Regions from separate parts of the Homo sapiens genome. Here region 1 is linked to region 2. Evidence: promoter capture Hi-C in human tissues and cell types (Jung and others, 2019). All regions are on one chromosome and are shown on one strand. The core of a region is centred on a gene start or on the middle of the fragment in contact, and the rest is flanking DNA. Distances in the headings are between cores, read along the strand shown. Region 1 overlaps TTC3 (tetratricopeptide repeat domain 3). Region 2 holds the start of RIPPLY3 (ripply transcriptional repressor 3).

Evidence for each region. The method cuts DNA at HindIII sites, captures the fragments that hold promoters and counts their contacts. A contact is called where the count stands out against the background at its distance.
Region 1: a contact is called between a fragment that was not itself captured here and the fragment with the promoter of RIPPLY3 in region 2, in 4 of the 25 tissues and cell types used here (H1 embryonic stem cells, IMR-90 fibroblasts, mesendoderm cells and 1 more).

What each region holds. Positions count from the first base shown.
Region 1 is chr21:37,103,756-37,106,455 of GRCh38, reverse strand. All of the region lies in intron 10 of TTC3 (tetratricopeptide repeat domain 3), which reads right to left. Among named protein-coding and RNA genes, the nearest start is that of TTC3, 32 kb to the right of the region's middle. The HindIII fragment of the contact is 5,828 bases long and covers 1-2,700 here.
Region 2 is chr21:37,005,262-37,007,961 of GRCh38, reverse strand. RIPPLY3 (ripply transcriptional repressor 3) reads right to left here and starts at 1,260. Exons shown (of 4, transcript NM_018962.3): 1 at 1,086-1,260. The coding sequence starts at 1,189. RefSeq lists a silencer at 1,086-1,195 and an enhancer at 1,419-1,919. The HindIII fragment of the contact is 12,344 bases long and covers 1-2,700 here.

The DNA.
Region 1 (2,700 bases), core at 45-2,544, 98 kb before region 2:
AACACAAAAAGAGCTTATCACAGAGGAAAAAACTGATAAACTGTACTACATTAAAATTAGTAACTTGTTTGTGAAAACATCAACAGTGAAAAGGCAAGCCACTGAATGTGAGAAGATATTTGCAATACATATATCTGACCAATGACTCATATTCAGAATACAAAAGAAAAACTCCTAAAAATGAATAGGGCATTCTACTCAAGAGAAAAAAATAGCAAAAGACTTCAACAGGCACTTCACAAAAGAGAATATCCAAATGGTCAATAACCTTATGAAAATCTGAAACATCCTTAATCAATTTATGAAAATACAAATTATAATCACAGCGGTATACCACTACACACCCACCAGAATGTCTAAAATAAAAGATGAAAAATAGTAAGTGTTGAGGGCACAGAACTGAAATTCTCATATGCTGCTGTAAGAGTACAAAATGATACAATCACACAGGAAAGCTAAATGCATATAAGCATACCCTCTGTCCCAACAATTCCACTCCTTAATTATACACTCAACAGAAATAAATACATATGTTCACAACAATACTACCTGTAAAAGCCAAATAGGAGAAGCTACCCAAATGCCCATCAACAATAGAATGGATAAAATGTGGTATATTCATGCAATAGATGAACACTTTACAACTACATGCAACAATATGGATCTCAAAAACGATGCTGAAAACCAAACATAAAAGAACACATAGTATATTATTTCATTACATTGTACTAAAATAGGCAAAATTAACCACTGGAAGCCAGGATGGTAGTTCTCCTGGGGGAGGAGATGGATCATGACTAGGAGGAGGGTCATGACTAAGAGGAACTTCTGGGGTACTGGGGTTGTGATCTGCATGCTGGTTACAGTTGTTTGACTTCTGAAAATTCCAGCTGCACTTAACACTTGTATACTTTTCAGCATGTGTATTAAGATTTTTTTTAAAGGACATAAGACAAAGTTGTCCTTCTTCTGCTAAAGATGTCTGAATTACAGCAGCCATCCTACATTCTGAGGGGACAGCCTGAGGACCAAGTCACACACTGAGGCTGGAAAAATCTAAGTCTCTGATGACATTGTTGAGCCACTGAATATACAACCCTAGTGCCACCTTCTTCTGGAACTCTTGAATAAGGTAAGTTTTCTTTACCATTTAAAGAGACTCACCCTGGGTCTCTCTCCCCAAACACCTTTAAAAGCTGCCTACGCTAGCTGTCTCCATTTCCTTGCATTTCTCAACCCCATCTAATTGGCATGTTTCAAGCTTCCCACTGACAGCTCCCCCTAAGGTTAGTGAATGATGTCCATGTTGCCAAATCTAAGTTCCACTGTAACTGGCTTCTCAGTAGCCAACAGACACTGCTGACCACTCTTTTACTTACTTCTATGACACCACACTTAGTCTTTGTTCCACCTCTCTGGTCACATCTTAATAATCTCCTGGGCAGGCTCATCCTTCTCCAATTGGCCATATGTGTTCAAGGCTCAATCCTGATTCCTCTCCTAGTCTCAGCCTAGGTTCTCTCTAGGCCAGTGGGTCTCAACCGTGACTGCACATTAGTACCATCTGGGGAGTTCCTAGAAGCCCAATGCCCAAGCTTTACTCTAGGTTAATTGAATCAGAATCTCTGGGGTGGGTGGTATTTGTCAAAGTTCAGTGATTCCAAAGTGCAGTCCAGGTTGAGAAAAACTTCTCTGTAAGCAGTCTCACCCACATCTACAACTTCAAATCATGGAGGCTGGCTATTCCAAACATGTTTCCCATCCAAACCCTCCTTTGAGTTCCAGACCCATATAACTCACTACCTACACAACATTGGAATTTGGATGCTTCAAAGGCACTTCTTTCTTTTTTTTTTTTTTTTTTTTTGAGACGGAGTTTTGCTCGTCGCCGAGGCTGGAGCGCAATGGCGCTACTTTGGCTCACTGCAACCTCCGCCTCCCACGTTCAAGCAATTCTCCTGCCTCAGCCTCCCGAGTAACTGAGATTAGAAGCACCTACCACCACGCCCAGCTAATTTTTGTAGTTGTAGTAGAGAAAGGGTTTCACCATGTTGGCCAGGCTGGTCTCGAACTCCTGACCTCTGGTGATCCTCCCACCTCGGCCTCCCAAAGTGCTGGGATTACAGGCGTGAGTCACCATGCCTGGCCTTCAAAGGCACTTCGATTCAGTGTCCGAGAGTGAAGTCCAGTTCTACCTCCTACAAATTTATTCCTCTTCCAGCAATCCCAATGTGAGTGAGTAGGCCCATAATCCATGATGCTGCTTAAGGCAGAAACGTCAGAACAGTTCCAACCACCTTCACTCTCAAGTTCCAACACCAACCACGAGCAACTTCTGTCAGCTTCACCTCTAAACTCTTGAATCCTTCTACTTTTCCATTCCCACTGTCAATATTCTGCTGGAAGCCATCATCTCTGGCCTGGGCTACTGCAACAGCCTCCTAACCTACATCCACACTACATCCCCTTCAGATCCATTTTCACTATGCTCAAATTTTTTTTTTAAGTGCTAATCATGCTCTCTCTCCTCAGTTTAAAATCCTTTACTTTCTTATTGCTCTTAAAGGCCAAAAGCCTTAACACAGCCTACAAGGCCCTCCTTGGCTTAGCCTATGAACATACTACCCTCTCCTCTGTATTCAGGCCATCTAGCAACTATCAGTTCCACAAATGCAACAAATTCCTTCCCACTACAAGGCC
Region 2 (2,700 bases), core at 11-2,510:
GTTCTCTGTCTCCAGTTAAGCTTTGAGAAGGGAGGTCCCGAATCTCACACAATTATCAGGGAACCCATTAGTTGAGAGATTTCTCTCCCTGCAAATCCTGGCTGAATTGTTCAATTCGGGGTTCCCCAACTATAGCTGTCTACTTTGTCCCCGGTTAATTTCAATCACACCACCTTGGTCACGGAAGGAGATTGATTCTACAGAGATGATTTTACAGAGTTGTAGGATGAAAAACAAACAAACAAAAAAAGGGGGCTGGGCGCGGTGGCTCACACCTGTAATCCCAGCACTTTGGGAGGCTGAGGTTACTGGATCACTCGAGGTCAGGAGTTCGAGACCAGCCTGGCCAACATGGCGAAACCCAGTCTCTACTAAAAATACAAAAATTAGCCGGGCGTGGTGGCAGGCGCGTGTAATCCCTGCTACTCAGGAGGCTGAGGCAGGAAAATCGCTTGAACCCGGGAGGCGGAGGTTCCCGTGAGCCGAGATCACGCCATTGCACTCCAGCCTGGGCGACACAGTGAGACCCTGTCTCAAAAAAAAAAAAAAAAAAAAAAAAAAGAGGGAATCTTTCTCCTGCCTGGCTACCTGGCCCATCCGGCCTACCCGGTCCCTTCCCTACCTCCCTGGCTAATTTGATTTCCTACAACGTTACTGTCTTTAAAAGGGTTGGTGCCCAGGGACAGCGAACGCCGAGCCCCCAATCCAGGGACAACAGAAACGGCTACCGAGAAAGTAGCAAGGTGAGAGATTGCCTTTGCAAGGCTGGCTTAGGAGCCCGAGACTGCAGTGTCCCCGGCTGGCTAACTGAGATCTCCTCTACACGGAAGCGTCGGCCCCTTTCCTGGCCAGCTACATCCTGGGCCTCCGCACTTCAGAGCTGTGCGTTGGAACCGGAGAACTGAGCGCCCCTCCCGGGAACCCGGCTGCCGGCTCAGGAGCTTGCTTGGCGTCGCCGTCGAGCTCCGGAGCTCCGCTGGGGATCGGGGGTTCAGCAGCGCCCCAGCCTCCCGCTCGCTGCGCTCCCCGCACCGCCACCGCGCACGCCTCTCAGCGCGTCCACCGGGGCGCGGGGCCACCCTCACCTCTCCGGCCCGCGCGGTGGCGGAGGCCTCCAGGGAGCGTCCCCGGGGCAGTGACAGCCGCGCCCCCGCGCCTTCCGGGCTCCGGCCGCCGCTTCGGGCTCCATGGTGCCGGCGGAGCCCGCGCCCCTTGCTGCGGCGCCGGCCTACGAGCGCGCCTAGATCCACTCGGGCTAACGCGCTCACCTACCCGCGCGCCAGGTTTAAAAACGGGGGCGGGGCGGCGCGGGCAAGCGCTGGGAGGGGGCAGGACCCGAGGAGCTCCGTGAGGGGTGCGGAGGGGGCCGCAGGGTACGAAGGAAAAGCCCGGGTCGGAGGAGCGGAGGGGACCAGAGAAGTTCCGGGAGGGGACCAGGGAGCCGGGGATGGGGAGGAGACGAGAAAAGCTCAAGGAGGTGGCGCCGGGTGTCAAGGAGGGGGGTCCGGCAGGCCCGGGCAAGGGTGGGGACGGGACAAAGAAAAGTCGGGGAGGGGGCACCAGAGAAGGGGTGACCAGAGGATGGAGGTACCAGGGATTGGGGCCACGAGCTCGGGCTGGAGACAGCGGGAAGTGACCCAGGAACCCGGGAGAGGAAAGCGAGGCCCGCGGGCTAGGGGCGTTTCCGTCGGGCGCACTCCCTCGGGGACTGGGGGGACCTGCGCTCACCTGCTGGGCTTCCCCTGCCGGATGTGGGATGTGAGGAGTCCCGGCTTCTCCGTCCCTCTGTGGTCCCCGCGGCCTCGGGCTTTGGTCCTGTGCGAGCATCGGATTCCCTGGGTTTCCGGAGAATCTCGCTTCCACCGCCTTAGAGCGGCAGCGGGTCTTCGGGGACATCTACCGAATCCTCGGGTCCGCGTGCACCGGCCTTGCCTTCGGTGCTGGACAGTGGGCTCCCGGACGCCCCGACGCCAGGGCTCGAACCCGTGGCGAAGCGGGTGGGGTGGGGCGCGGCGACCCTTCCAGGAGACAGAAGGCCAGGAATGGAACCGAGCAAGAGGGGTGCTACGAGCGCACCCTTCCCACCGATGGCGGCCTTGGAAAGAATGCGAATTTTTAATAAAGCCTGGAGCGGCGGGCTTCTCCTTCGGTTAGCCCCAGCCAGGCTTAGAAAGGGCCTCCCGACCAGCAGAAGCGACCTTGCCCGACCCTGGGGACACTTCCCCGGGCGTCGCTGGAGCGCCGCTGCCACCATCACCAGCGCACGGCCAGGGTGGGAGAAAGCGGTTTCACACGTAGAGCACTGCGACAGAACACCGAAGGCGCTGGAGGGCCTTCAACTACCCCGGGCTCCTCAGGGGTAGTTACTTTATATAATTTAAGTTACTGTGATGGATGTTAAAAAATCGAAGAACTAGGCCAGGCGCGGTGGTTCTCACCTGTAATCCCAGCACTTTGGGAGACCGAGGCAGGTGGATGGATCACTTGAAGTCAGGAGTTCGAGATCAGTCTGGCCAATATGGTGAAACCCGTCTCTACTAAAAATAAAAAAATTAGCCGGGCGTGGTGGCAGGCTCCTGTAATCCCAGCTACTTGGGAGGCTGAGGCAGGAGAATGGCTTGAATCTGGGAGGCGGAGGTTGCAGTGAGCCGAGAGTGTGCCACTGCACTCCAGCGTGGGAGACAGAGAGAGATTCCCTTT